2 separate regions of the Homo sapiens genome follow, and region 2 is linked to region 1. Evidence: promoter capture Hi-C in 16 types of primary human blood cells and fetal thymus (Javierre and others, 2016). All regions are on one chromosome and are shown on one strand. The core of a region is centred on a gene start or on the middle of the fragment in contact, and the rest is flanking DNA. Distances in the headings are between cores, read along the strand shown. Region 1 holds the start of H3C2 (H3 clustered histone 2). Region 2 has its middle 25 kb from the start of TAF8.

What was found. Contacts are between HindIII fragments. The CHiCAGO score rates a contact against its expected background, and 5 or more counts as called.
Region 2: a contact is called between a fragment that was not itself captured here and the fragment with the promoter of H3C2 in region 1, in 1 of 17 cell types (erythroblasts). The highest score is 5.9, in erythroblasts.

The regions. Positions count from the first base shown.
Region 1 is chr6:26,028,570-26,035,507 of GRCh38, forward strand. It overlaps H3C2 (H3 clustered histone 2), which reads right to left and starts at 3,530. Exons shown (of 1, transcript NM_003537.4): 1 at 3,020-3,530. The coding sequence starts at 3,491. The coding sequence ends at 3,081. It overlaps H2AC4 (H2A clustered histone 4), which reads right to left and starts at 5,049. Exons shown (of 1, transcript NM_003513.3): 1 at 4,523-5,049. The coding sequence starts at 4,999. The coding sequence ends at 4,607. RefSeq lists enhancers at 1-539, 3,167-3,396, 3,437-3,556, 4,494-5,123, 5,427-5,486 and 2 more and a silencer at 4,907-5,006. The HindIII fragment of the contact is 2,287 bases long and covers 3,508-5,794 here.
Region 2 is chr6:42,022,299-42,029,236 of GRCh38, forward strand. It overlaps a transcript of CCND3 not described here. Among named protein-coding and RNA genes, the nearest start is that of TAF8, 25 kb to the right of the region's middle. RefSeq lists enhancers at 5,907-5,966, 6,207-6,266, 6,253-6,547, 6,293-6,587, 6,327-6,376. The HindIII fragment of the contact is 6,741 bases long and covers 1-6,432 here.

The sequences.
Region 1 (6,938 bases), core at 2,280-4,779:
TTAAATTTCCTGAAAACATTCTTAAATCACTTCTATTGGAAAAACTGCAAGGGCTACTGCTAAATTTTTAAGTCTGAAAAATGCACCCCAAACTTGACTTCTTTCTCTGAGAATCTTAGCCATCTCACCCAAATCTAACAAACCAAAACTGATTTTAGACTTCAACAGCATTAGCTGTAAACTTCAGCCTGCAGCATAACATCACTTTGTTGTGACTGGGCAGGAAAAACCCTGTTAAACTGTTTCAGGCGCGTCCGTGTGAAGAGACCATCAAACAGGGTTTGTGTGAGCAACAAGGCTGTTTATTCTACCTGGGTGCAGGCGGGCTGAGTCCGAAAAGAGTCAGCGAAGGGAGATGGGGTGGGTCCGTTTTATAAGATTTGGGTAGATAGTGGAAAATTACAGTCAAAGGGGGTTGTTCTCTGGCTGGCAGGGGTGGGGGTCACAAGGTGCTCAGTGGGGGAGCTTTTGAGTCAGGATGAGCCAGGAGAAGGAATTTCACAAGGTAATGTCATCAGTTAAGGCAGGAACAGGGCATTTTCACTTCTTTTGTGTTTCTTCAGTTACTTCAGGCCATCTAGAGGCATACGTGCAGTTCACAGGGGATATGATGGCTTAGCTTCGGCTCAGAGGCCTGACAAACTGAACAACTGGGAACAAACAACATTTAATGCACACAATCTCTATCTTGTAGGGAGGCAAAATTTTACCTCTACTCTGTTAGGGTCTCCAGCTGGACCTGATAATTCATTTGCCATAAAACAGATTAGCAGAATGAAAGCATACAAATGTATTTAATGTAAATTTTATGGGACAGGAGAACCCTCATAAAAAAGTGAAGCCCCAAAGAAATGGCAAAAGCTAAATGCTTTCACATTAAGTTAAAGAGAGGCAATTGTGGGAAAGTAAACCATATGAGGAGATTAAAGGAATATATGATTATTTTAACAAGGTTTGTTTGTGTATAGAAGTCTCTCGGCTATGACTCCCTGCTGTGTTTGTGCAGAATTATCTCATCTATGCCTCTGGGCTGAAGAATATGTCTTTTCACCTGGTACAAGCAGAGCATTTTTCACATTGGAACTTTTATCTCCTGTTTTCAGAAAGAAAAGTTTAGAAGAATTCCCTTCTTGAATGCTGTTTTTGAAGTGCCTTTAGCTCAAAAGAATCCTGATCCCACAGTGGTCTATTTTTGGATGGTATATTCTGCAAACAACACCCCCTTTTTGTCTCCAATCTCTCCTTAATTACTCCTCTAATACAAAACAATAGATTCTTAATATAATATTAAAATGTTTGCACTACTCACAAATACAAAATGCTCAATAAATTTTCTTTCACAAATGAGAATTTCATCCATTCGTTAATTTTTAAATATCAACTGTCAATGAAGAGTTACAGCAGAATCCTTGTTCTGTTGAGGAGGGGGCAAAGAATGTAAGTGAGGGAGTGGAAAATAGCTGGACTGAGCTACCACCCCCTGTCCATCTGATCCTCAGACAGTAATGTAACTTTATTCTTTTATGCTATTCGTCAGACCCAGTACCTCCAACACATTTGTTTCCTACAGATAAAGAAAATATAAAAAGTCAAGCGCTATACATCAGATCCAGCACATCTATAACTGGAAAAAAAATACTTGACCTTCAGCTGGGCCCAGAGCTTGTGAGTAGTCACCTTGGCATAGACCAAGTCCATTGGCATCTCTAACATATCTATACTGTCTGTGGATAACAAATGTCTATGCCAGTTAGAGTCGCTTGTATAAGAGTCAAGAAAAACGAATCATAAAACAAACTGACATATTCATTTTCATAATTTTTAAAATGCAAATATTACTTTATAAACCAAAAACTGCCTTATTAAAAGCTGGAACACAAATGAATTTAAGTAAACGATGCAATTCAAATTTAATCTTTTGTGTGTGTGATTTGTTGTTGTTGACAGTTGGTCAGGCGATTTTAGTATGGTACATCAGTTTACATTCTAGATGTAGGCCAAGAAAGAATGTTAGGTGTAAAAAATATTTATTGTAAAAAAGAATGTGAGGCAAGGTCTTTGGAATTAGTAGTTTTAATGTTGGACATTCTGTGGTTGTTCTAAAGTTAGTCTGTAAAATGTGATGTAAAAGCTATATGATAAAAAAATACAAAATATAAAAATTTTAAAGTAAATATTACTTTTGTTTGCGTACAGTATTCCCATCCCTCTAAATTTTCTTCCAGTACTCAATCCCCAACCTCCAAAACCGAAAAGCAAGATCAACAGAAAGAAAATGGTTAAAACTTGTAAATTCTAGATTTTAATAACTACAGGCAAGAAGTACTGAAAAAAAGAATGTGGCATGTCATGGTGCATAGTCCTAGAGGAGACAAAGCAATGCAACCAGATAGACTATTTACAAGCAAAGCCACACATATAAAAATTCATATATAAGGGATTAAATTATGCTTGGTCGACAGACTGACAGATTTAAAGTGGGTAGCTAGCTATGGATAAAATGAGAGCCAGTTAGATCCCTGCCTCACATTTTGCACCAGAATAAATTTCAGGTTAATGTTAACAGCCAAATGAATTTAACAGTATATATATATATATATATATATATAATATATGAGAAAACCTAGGGGACTATGTATTGAGCTGAGAAAATCTTCCTAAGCATTTTGAGGAAGACACTGGAACTCGCAAGACACAATTTTCTAATCTTTTCAAAGCTTTGCAAAAATGCCTAGTAAGCGCCAGTTAACTACTTACCAGATTTTTCCCTTACTCTTACAAAGTTGTTTAAACAAATGCTAATCATAGCAAGCTAGAGGCCTGAATGATAGTGGACTTACACAGCTTCTCTCCAAATAGCACCTTAATAAGGTCAGAAATAACCTACACTGCAAGACTGACCAAACCGTTATTTCTGTTAATCAACTTTAAGACCATAGTCTAATGCTTTCCGGGGGGGTCCTTAGAAATTTGTTCTGTTAAGACAACAAAAAATTATCACAGCTACTTTCGTTGGAATAAGTGGGTGGCTCTGAAAAGAGCCTTTGGGTTTTAAGACTGATGAAAAAGTGACTTTACATTTACGCTCTTTCTCCGCGAATGCGGCGAGCGAGCTGGATGTCTTTGGGCATAATAGTCACTCGCTTAGCATGGATGGCGCAAAGGTTTGTGTCCTCAAAGAGCCCTACCAAGTAGGCCTCACAAGCCTCCTGCAGCGCCATCACCGCAGAGCTCTGGAAGCGAAGATCGGTCTTGAAGTCTTGGGCGATTTCTCGCACCAGGCGCTGGAACGGCAGCTTCCGAATCAGCAACTCGGTCGACTTTTGGTAGCGGCGGATCTCGCGCAGAGCCACAGTGCCCGGGCGGTAACGGTGAGGCTTTTTCACGCCGCCGGTAGCCGGCGCGCTCTTGCGAGCAGCCTTGGTAGCCAGCTGCTTGCGTGGCGCTTTACCGCCGGTGGATTTCCGAGCTGTCTGTTTAGTACGAGCCATGGCAAAACCACAGAAAAGCTTGCCTGCAGAGACGTCTGTGGAGGAAAGGAAAGAGCTACTCTTCTTTTATAGAGTCAGACCACCAACTATTGGACCCAAGAAAATTCAAAAATCCCCGCGCCCTTCTTGGATTGGTCCATCTCTGTGCCTGGTTGCAGATTAAGAGAGGCTCCTGCCCATTACCGTAGCTACTCTGACGTCATTTTGTTAACCCCTTAGCTGCTATATCCACTGTGGACAAGTCTTGTACTGGAAAAGTTTCCTGAAGTCTTAAAATTTACAACCACACAAAGCAACGCGGAAACCTCCAATTGTTTCTAGTTAAAATATAAAAAAGAAATCAGAGAATATTGGAGACGATTAGGGAAATTTGCATATGCGCTTTATTTAAAATTGTATTTTTCTGGGTGTCGCATAAGAAGTGTGGGCAATTAGAAAAATGCTCTTAGCCGGGCGTGGCGGCTCTCGCCTGTAATCCCAGCTACTCAGAAGGCTGTCAAGAGGATCGCTTGAGCCCGAGTTCGAGGTTACAGTGAGCTGTTATCACGCCGCTGCACTGCAGCTTGGGCGAGAGGGAGACTCCACCCCAAAACAAAGCAAAACATCCCCAAACTGGAAAAAAGCTCATTTTGGGAAATACATACTCAAATGTTCAGTGGTAATGTGTGTGCTCTCAATTGTGTATGCCATTAATTGCTACAGCAAATGGTATGACATATTCAAACTTGTGTGGGGCATGCGGGTTTTAACACTTCCATTCAAGATAGTTAGGAATGCACTCATGGGTATAATTTCCTTCCTCTAAAATGTAGTAACTGCTGTGTGTGAAACTTAACGCGAATCACCCCTGTAAACATGTTTTGTGCTGCATGGCACTTCTCCCACATACCTAGAATTCCTGAGGTTTCTATGGATCTAATTTCTGCAGGACAAATTACTAAAAGTGCCACACTCAAAGCCATTAAAAACACCTCAAAAACATCTTTATGGGCGGCATAATCCAAAGCACAACAGCTCATTTAATGGAAGTCGTAGGTGGCTCTGAAAAGAGCCTTTGCTGTTAGGCTGATTTTGTCTGCTGACAGAAAAACAGCAGTGCATGAAGCGTTAACTCTTCACTTTCCCTTGGCCTTATGATGGCTCTCAGTTTTCTTAGGCAGCAGCACCGCCTGAATATTAGGCAAAACGCCACCCTGCGCGATGGTCACACGCCCCAAGAGTTTATTAAGCTCCTCGTCATTGCGGATGGCCAATTGCAGGTGGCGCGGGATGATGCGGGTCTTCTTGTTGTCGCGGGCCGCATTGCCCGCCAGCTCCAGGATCTCGGCGGTCAGGTACTCAAGCACCGCCGCGAGATACACCGGCGCGCCAGCCCCGACGCGCTCGGAGTAGTTGCCTTTGCGGAGCAGGCGGTGCACTCGGCCCACAGGAAACTGCAAACCTGCACGAGAAGACCGAGTCTTAGCCTTGGCGCGAGCTTTACCGCCTTGTTTGCCGCGACCAGACATAACTACTTCTGATAAGGGAAAATCGCCACAAGAAAATGTAATGAAACTACATTAGAACGCAAGGCAGAGAAGTATTTATACTGACTGGAGGTAGGCTGTGAGGAATTCTCCCATTGGCTAATGTCAAATACCCAATGGGAAATCAGAATCTGCATCCTTCATTTGCATGTAATCCTTCCGTCTGGTGTAAGGTTTATGTTTGACCCAATCCCCAGTCTGGCTTGACGAGCCTTCGACTTGAATACTAATAATAATTGGCCGAATTAGGATTTTGTCAAAATACCTTTTTTAAGCATGAGTGGAGGTTTTGTTCTGGTTATTTTGACTTTCAGCCGCTCGTGCTTTTCCCGGATTGTGACTCATGTTTTTGGAAAGGAGTGGACTCCGACCAATTTCTAAATAGATATTTAAGAGGTCCTTCAAATCGGGCGCAGTGGCTCATGCCCGTAATACCAGCACTTTGGGAGGCCGAGGACGGCGGGTCAGGCGTTCGAGACCAGCGTGGACAACATGGAGAAACCCTGTCTCCAGTAAAATAACCAAAAAAGAAACGGGGGAGAAAAAGAAAAAAAAAAGCCGGGCTTGGTAGTGCACGCCTGTAGTTCCAGTTACTCGAGAAGCTGAGGTGGGAGGATCGCTTGAACCCGAGAGGAGGAGGTTGCAGTGAGTTCACATAGAGCCACCACACTCCAGCGTGGGCGACAGAGCCAGAAGACTGTGTCTCAAAGACAAAAAAAGGGGAGGGGGAGTGGGAGGGAAGAAAAGCGAATACCCCAAATCCCAGTGAACTGTAGAAGCTTATAAGCTCTCTTGATTCATAAGGGAGAAAGAAGGGGGATGTAGGCAACTTAGGGGAGAGTATATGATTTTGGAGAAAAATAAATGGGTGTTTCAAAGAATAGGTGACAGCTGTGACAAAGTCTGTTTAGATGGTGTTAACCACCAGTCTCCTCTCCTGTGATACAGTTAATCTTCTCTGGTTGATGAGATTCCCCAGGGAAGTGAATCTTAACAACTAAATTCCTTTTTGAATTTTTTTTTAATTTTCAAATTTTTGATTAGAGTTCAGCGAAAGCCCTTCCTTGAATTTACTGTTTCCTAGGTGCCCTCAGTTCAAAGAAATCAGCGTAACAAAGTGGCACATTTTTGAGTTGCATTTCCTGAACTTTTTCACAACACTGAATGAGGAGTCTCTGGAATCTTTCAGGAAATGAGAGAACAAACATTCCATAACACAGAAATACTCAAAATGGGATTATGATTATAAAAGTGTTTCACTGACCACCTTCTGCCTTCCTGTCTGTAAGTCCCATTCTCCCCAAAGTCTAGCCATAGAAACCAGAATTCCTCCTCAAGGTAGGCCATACAAACCAGAACTCCTTTTCCCTAGAACCAGCCATAAAACCTAAAAGTATTACTCTAACCTACCTTGTTTGCCTGTAGGTCATAAGACCCCCCATTCTAAAAGAGAGTCTTGTCCTATAACCAGAAGGAAGAAATGCTGCACTGAGAGGTCAAGAAGAATCTTGACAGACAAGCCTTGCGGGGCTTCCCCACTCAGTCTGTTAGCATTAGATCGTACCCTATACAGCTGTTTATCTTGTTGAACCTAAGCATAAAAATGGGCAATTTCCCCTGTATCTTTCAGTCTTAATTCTAAAATCTCCTGTAAAATTGTGATGAAATAAATATATATGCCTTTTCTCCAGTTAATCTGTGTTTTGCCAGTAATTTTCCATAAACCTTGGGAGGGCAAAGGGGAAGTTTTTCCTTGGCCGGGACAATATTATTACAGCCATTGTCTGGCTCTCCTGTTGAGGAACCTAAAATCAAGACAGATTGCCTAGGGAAATCTTGGTGTTTTTCCTTTTATATTCCATGAGATAGGAGCAGATGGAGTACAGATGAACGTGGATTAATTATTCCAGGAATTTCTGAG
Region 2 (6,938 bases), core at 1,812-4,311, about 16 Mb after region 1:
GGTTCAGTACACACTGGAATGAGTGAATGAAGAAATGAATGAACAAATGATTGGATCCCAGGTTGGTAAAGAAAACCTCTCAGCACACACAAAAAGGGTGGAGGATGGAGGCGGGGAGGAGATGTAAGAATAAATGGAAAATAAAACAAACAATCGTTGTATTACCACTTCCTCTGGGGCTGGGTCATGGTTTTTAACGGTGTGCAGCGGGCACATCCAGTGTGGTACAGGCACATCCACAAAGAGAAACAAAGAGCTATTTATTTACTTCCTTTGAGGGGTAAATAAAGATCAGGTCAAAACAGGCTCCCCCCAACCGCCAGGGGGTCTTCCCCAGGTGTTGATGCAGCACTTGGCCTGGAGCAGTCACAGGTGGCCTCTGCTTGTGTGTCATCCCGCCTTCCTTTACACATGCGTGGGTCTGGCTCGCAAGGGAGGCCCCATGTGCAGTGGGGAAGTAGCGTAAGGGGAAAGGTGGCAGGGCAGGGCTTCCTCACCCCTCCGCCAGTGCAGCCAGGGCAGCAACATTTATACCACCAGGAGAGAGATGGGAGAGTCAACAAGTGGGATGGCGCTGGCCTAAGAGCTGGCTCGGGGTGCTGGAGGCCCCATGCTGGGCCAGGCAGTAGATATGCAGATGGCTGCATCTTGTGGGGATAGGACTAAGAGGGGGACCATGTACGGGTACAGCCAATCCCCATTATTCATGGAGTCTGTATTTGTGAATTTGCCTCCTTGCTAAAATTTGTGACCCCGAAATCAATACTTGAGGTGCTTTGTCATCTTTCACAGACATGCGCAAAGCCATGAAAAATTTGAGTCACCCAACATGCATGTTCCTGGCTGAGGTGGGACAGGGCAGTGCTCTGCCTGTTTCAGCTCTCGTAATGTAAACAAGTGTCCTTGTCACAGTCTACTTAGTGCCACCTTTTCTGCATTGCTGGGTTTTTTGTTGATTTCGCTGTTTGAAATGGCCCCCGAGCCTAGGGCTGACGTGCTGGCGAATGTTTCTAAGTACAAGATGACTGTATGCGCCTTACAGAGAAAATACATTAGATCAGGTTTGTTTGGGCATGAAGTATCGTGCTGTGGGGCATGAGTTCAATGTTAATGAGTTAACTATATATTCAATAAGGTGTCTTCAAACAGAAACACACAGAAAACAAAGTTATGTATTGATTAGTTGATGAAAGTCTTGTGACCAGTGGCTCACAGAAACCTAACCCTGTATTTCCCCTAGGAGCAATGGGCCAGTGTTCACCAGTTTGGTGTTCGTGGTGACTGTACAGAATATAACTGGTGAGAATAGCGAGAACTGGTAGTATTTAAATATTATAATAACTAGGGTAGCCGTATCCTTTGGGTACCTGTGAATGCCAGTCTGTATCTACTCATCCATCCGCCATCTATCATCTATTAAACACTAAGTACAAAATCCAACACTAAAAGCAAAAAATACAGGATGCAAGCAGGGTCCTGACCCTGTCACTGACCATCTTAACTGTACAATGGGGGAATCTGTACGTTAAGACTGACTCTGAAGGTTTTATTATTTTATTTGGCTTAGATATCCCTAGGTTGATATACTAGCATTGGGGCCTAAAAGTTTTGCCAGTGTTTACATCAGGCAAACACCTGTGTCACAATAACAGCCTAATACATACACTTATTAGGGCCAGGCACTGTTCTGAGTGCTGTACGTGCATAAAGCCTCCTAACAACTCATGTAATCCTCCTAATAGCCCTGTAAGGTGGATACTATTATTATCTCCAACTTACAGATAAGGGCACTGAGGCACAGAGAGGTTAAGAATGCACCCCATGGCTGGGTGCGGTGGCTCACACCTGTAATCCCAGCACTTTGGGAGGCCGAGGCAGGTGGATCACGAGGTCAGGAGATGGAGACCATCCTGGCTAACATGGTGAAATCCCGTCCCTACTAAATATACAAAAAATTAGCCAGGCATGTTGGCGGGCACCTGTAGTCTCAGCTACTTGGGAGGCTAAGGCAGGAGAATGGCATGAACCCAGGAGGCGGAGCTTGTAGTGAGCGGAGATCACGCCACTGCATTGCAGCCTGGGTGACAGAGCAAGACTCAGTCTCAAAAAAAAAAAATAATAATAATTCACCCTGATAACACAGCTGGTGTGTGGAAGAGGCAGAGGGGTTTATGCGCCTCCAGTGACATGGAAGGAGAACCTGCATCTTGTGAGGATCTCAGTCCACCCTCAGTGATGAGGAGGGTCCCTCTCCTTAGCCATGCCACTGGCACTGTTCAGTAGCAGGAAAGCATGAAGTGACATTGCGAGGCTGGGGCCACTCAGAAGTCCAGGCAAGCAGGGCAGGCATGGTGGCTCACGCTTGTAATTCCACCATTTTGGGAGGCTGAGACAGGTGAATCACCTGAGGGTAGGAGTTTGACACCAGCCTGGCCAACATGGTGAAACCCTGTCTCTACTAAAAATACAAAATTAAGGGGCCGGGCGCAGTGGCTCATGCCTGTAATCCCAGCACTTTGGGAGGCTGAGGAGGGCAGATCACCTGAGGTCAGGAGTTCGAGACCAGCCTGACTAATAGAGAGAAACCCCGTCTCTCCTAAAAATACAAAATTAGCCCAGTGTGGTGGTGCACACCTGTAATCCTAGCTACGTGGGAGGCTGAGGCAGGAGAATCGCTCGAACCCAGGAGGTGGAGGTTGCAGTGAGACGAGATCATGCCACTGCACTCCAGCTTGGGTGACAAAGTGAGACTCCATCTCAAAAAATAAAGTCAAATAAAATAAAATAAAAAAGAAATCCAGGGAGGAAAGCAGGGCCTGCATGAGGCCATGCCTTGGGGAATAAAGTGAGAGTGACCCATGCACGCAGGCAGACAGAAGGTCTGGGATCTAACTGTGAGAGGAAACAGGGAGCCTGACAGCTCTCCGAGCAGGCCAGGGCAGGGGGACCTCTCTTCCAGCAAGGCCAAGAGGGGCCCAGGAAGCCAAGCCCCAGGGAGAAGTCTGAGAGACCAAGGCCTCACAGAGGAAGTGTCTCCACAGAGATTTCCAATTGCCACGCCACCTTCTTTCCTGGAGCAAAGAGGTGCAGTTGGTGAACTAGGGCCACGGGTAATGGGAAGAATGGGAAGGAGAGATCCCATCCAACCTGGAACACTGGAGGGACAGCTAGAGTTGGAGGAGGGGTGAGTGAAGACATCTCCCCTCAGCTCACAGAAGAAGTCACACACCTCACCAAACTGAGAAAAATCAGATTCCACGCCTGGTGTGAGAGGGAAGTGAAACCGCACCTCCAATGCTCCACTGCCCTCCCCTCCGGCACTCTGGCCCATCCTGCACCCCGGCCGCCCCACGATGGCGGGCTCAGAGGTGAGGGCCTATCAGATGCATTCATGGGCTCCCTTAGGGCCTTTTGGGCTCTGAGTCACAAGGGTGGCTCTCTCAGAGCTGTGATGGCCTGGTCTCTCCTCCCCAGGGAGGCAGAAAGGGAACCAGGGAAAACAAGGCTTATAAGCTACAGAGGTAAGGGACTGTGCCCATCTTGTTCTTTCCTTTTTCACACACACGGAACATGGTACCCGGTGTATCCATGGTAAGCACTTAATAAACAGACACTGAGCGGATGAGTGAATTAATGAGTGAGTGAATGAATGAGTCAGCACTGGACCCACAAGGCTGCCTGTCAGCCTCTAGCCACATGGAGATTCCCACCTCCAGAGAAGAGCTCTACTACGTATGTTCCCCAAACTCCCTGTCAGCTAAATGTGACCTGTGACCAACTGGTGATCAAAGGGATAAGCTATCTGTCAATTGTTAGGTCTCGTTTGAAAATAAACCTCTTTTTCCCCTATTTTTGACAAACCTTGACCTCCCTGCCTCGACCCTGCTCACATTACATTTGACCTTCTCAACGACCTCTCTAAGGGATGGAGACATGACCCTCCTCTACCTCATCAGAGAACAGCACAGACCCTCTCCCCCCGCCGCCCCCCTGCCAAGGGGAAAATATGGTGCTCCTCAATGAACCTCACCCTGATCCTACAGGGTGCTCCTGGAAGAAGGGCTCCATGATGACCTCCAAGGGGCCTCTGGTCAAGGCGAAGGAGAATCAGACCCTCCACCTTTGACCAGAGGGGAGGGAGTCCAGCGTGAGGGCATTAGCCAAGGGGGTTCTGGTCCCTCTGCTCTAGGCCCCTCACAAAAAGAAGTCCAGCTGGGAACATTTTTCTCCCAGCAGGTCCCCATAGGAAAGCCATCCTCACCCACATGACACAGGCTCCCCATACCCTTCTCATCTAGATCTCATGGCAAAGATTGCCAACTGTCCCCTAAAATCCACTTTCCCTTCTTGTACCTTTGGTACTAGAAGCTCCACTATGTATGTTCCCCAAACTCCCTGTCAGCTAAGTGTGGCATGTGATCAGCTGGTGACCAAAGGGATGTCATCTGGCAACTTTGAGGTCATGCTCTGAAAAGGAAGGGCAGTGCCTTTTCTTTCTCGTCACTTTCCTCCCTCCCCACTGGCTGGCTGACGGACCCAGCAGCCATGGTGGGATGCCATCTCCCACACGCAAGGGCACAGGAGGGGCTTGGGCCCTCAACACCACCAAGGGGTCAGATCACCCACCCGGATCTGTATGGGAGAAATTTCCATTTTGCTAAGCCACTCTTGTTGGAGTCTGTGTTACAGCAGCCTAACCTCCCCTAGTTCCTATCCCAGCCCATTCTTTGGTGCCAAGATGCTGATGGGTAAAGGCGTGAAAAAGGGGCCTTGTCCTCATCCATGTCTCCAGCCCTTCACCTCCATCAGGTCAGCTTCCCAAGTGTCTGAGTGCCTTCCAGGTGGTTAAGACACCACTAGGCCGGGCGCGGTGGCTCATGCCTGTAATCCCAGCACTTTGGGAGGCCGAGACGGGCAGATCACGAGGTCAGGGGATCGAGACCATCCTGGCTAACACGGTGAAACCCCATCTCTACTAAAAATACAAAAAAATTAGGCAGGCTTGGTGGCAGGCGCCTATAGTCCCAGCTACTCGGTAGGCTGAGGCAGGAGAATGGCGTGAACGCGGGAGGCAGAGCTTGCAGCGAGCCGAGATCGCGCCACTGCACTCCAGCCTGAGTGAGAGAGCGAGGCTCCATCTCAAAAAAAAAAAAAAAAAAGACACCCGACTCCACCCCCACCTAATGCCAAATGAGGTTGGAGGTGAATGTCTCTCTCACCATACCCAATTTATTCCTCCCTCGAACTGACCATTTCTCAATTGCGTATCTCCTTCCCTGCTCAGGAAACCACTGTACTCAGGCCAACCCAACCCATGGGGAAGGTGGTAAGGAGGGCAGAAAGTGTGTGGGCTTAACACCAGAGCCCAAATCTCCTCCTCACTGCTCACCAGCTGTGTAACCCTGGACAGATCTCTTAGCCTCTCTAAGCCTCAGTTTTTTTTGTTTGTTTGTTTGTTTGTTTTTGAGACAAGAGTTTTGCTCTTGTTGTCCAGGCTGGAGGGCAATGGCTCAATCTCAGCTCACGGCAACCTCCGCCTCCTGGGTTCAAGCAATTCTCCTGCCTCAGCCTCCCAAGTAGCTGGGATTACAGGCTCCTGCCACCACACCCGGCTAATTTTGTACTTTTAGTAGAGACGGGGTTTTTCCACGTTGGTCAGGCTGGTCTCAAACTCCCGACCTCAGGTGATCCGCCCACCTTGGCCTCCCAAAGTGCTGGGATTACAGGCGTGAGACACCACGCCCGGCCGCCCGTTATGAAATGGGGGTAAAAATTGCTTACAGGTTTGTGGAGAGAAGATTACAAACTTGTAAAGTCCCTAGCACTGTGCCTAGCATGTGGTAGGTGCTCACTAAATCGTGGCTGCTCTTACTATGATGCTAAGCATGGGAATACGGAGGACACAGCTGGAGAGGAGACCTGATGACCTCCCTGGTGGAGGGTGGCCAGGGAAGGAGTGGAAGAGAGAGCTGGGGAGAGGAAACTGTGGCCATAAAGAGGAAGAGAGAGGCAGAGCTGGAGGTGACATCAGGGGAGAGAGAGGAGTGGGTTCGGCGATGGCCATGCTGGGCGAGGTGTGGAGAGCACAGCTGTGCTATCTATCAGCTGCCTCCAGCTCAGACAATTCCTGTGCCCATCTCATTTTTGTCTGCCCATCGCCTCTGCCGGGTTGGACACCCTTACCACCACGGTCACCGTTGCCACACTGTCGGCTGCTATTTCTTGCCTCATCTTCCTTCCTGCTCATGATATGGCAGAAGGTGGCAAGGGAAGCAGCTGCCCTCCGCCAGCAGCCTCCCTGCCACTGAAGGCTGAAGCTGTCCACAGGCATGGGTAAAGAGCTCAGGCTCCAAAGACAGATGAGCTGGGTTCCGTTCCCAGCTCTAGCACTTAGGAGCGGGATGACCTCAGCAAGGGAGATGACTCAGCTAAAGCTTCAGTTTCCTTATCTGCACAGTAGGGATAACAGGGCTGTTGAGAAGAAGGAATGAGATTATGCGTGGTAAGCACCCAGCCCAGCACAATGTCTGGCACACAGCAAGTGTTCAATACACGTTCGTGTTCGCTATTTTCAAGGCCAAATAGGTTTGTGACCTGTGCAGCCACACAGGGTCCCATGCTCAGGACGGGTCCCAAACTTGGTTAATGCTCTGTCACCACCACCTTGAAACGGTTTTTTTTTTTTTTTCCTAAGAGACAGGGTCTCACTCTGTTGCCAAGACTGTAGGATTGCAGTGGCATGATCATAGCTCACTGCAGCCTCGAACTCCTGAGTTCAAGTGATTGTCTCACCTCAGCCTGCTGAGTAGCTAGGAATACAAGCAGGCACCACCAGCTATTTTATTTTTTAATTTTTTTTTTTTTTATTATTTTTTAGAGACAGGGTCTCACTATGTTGCCCAGGCTGGTCTCGAGTTCCTGGCCTGAAGAGATCCTCC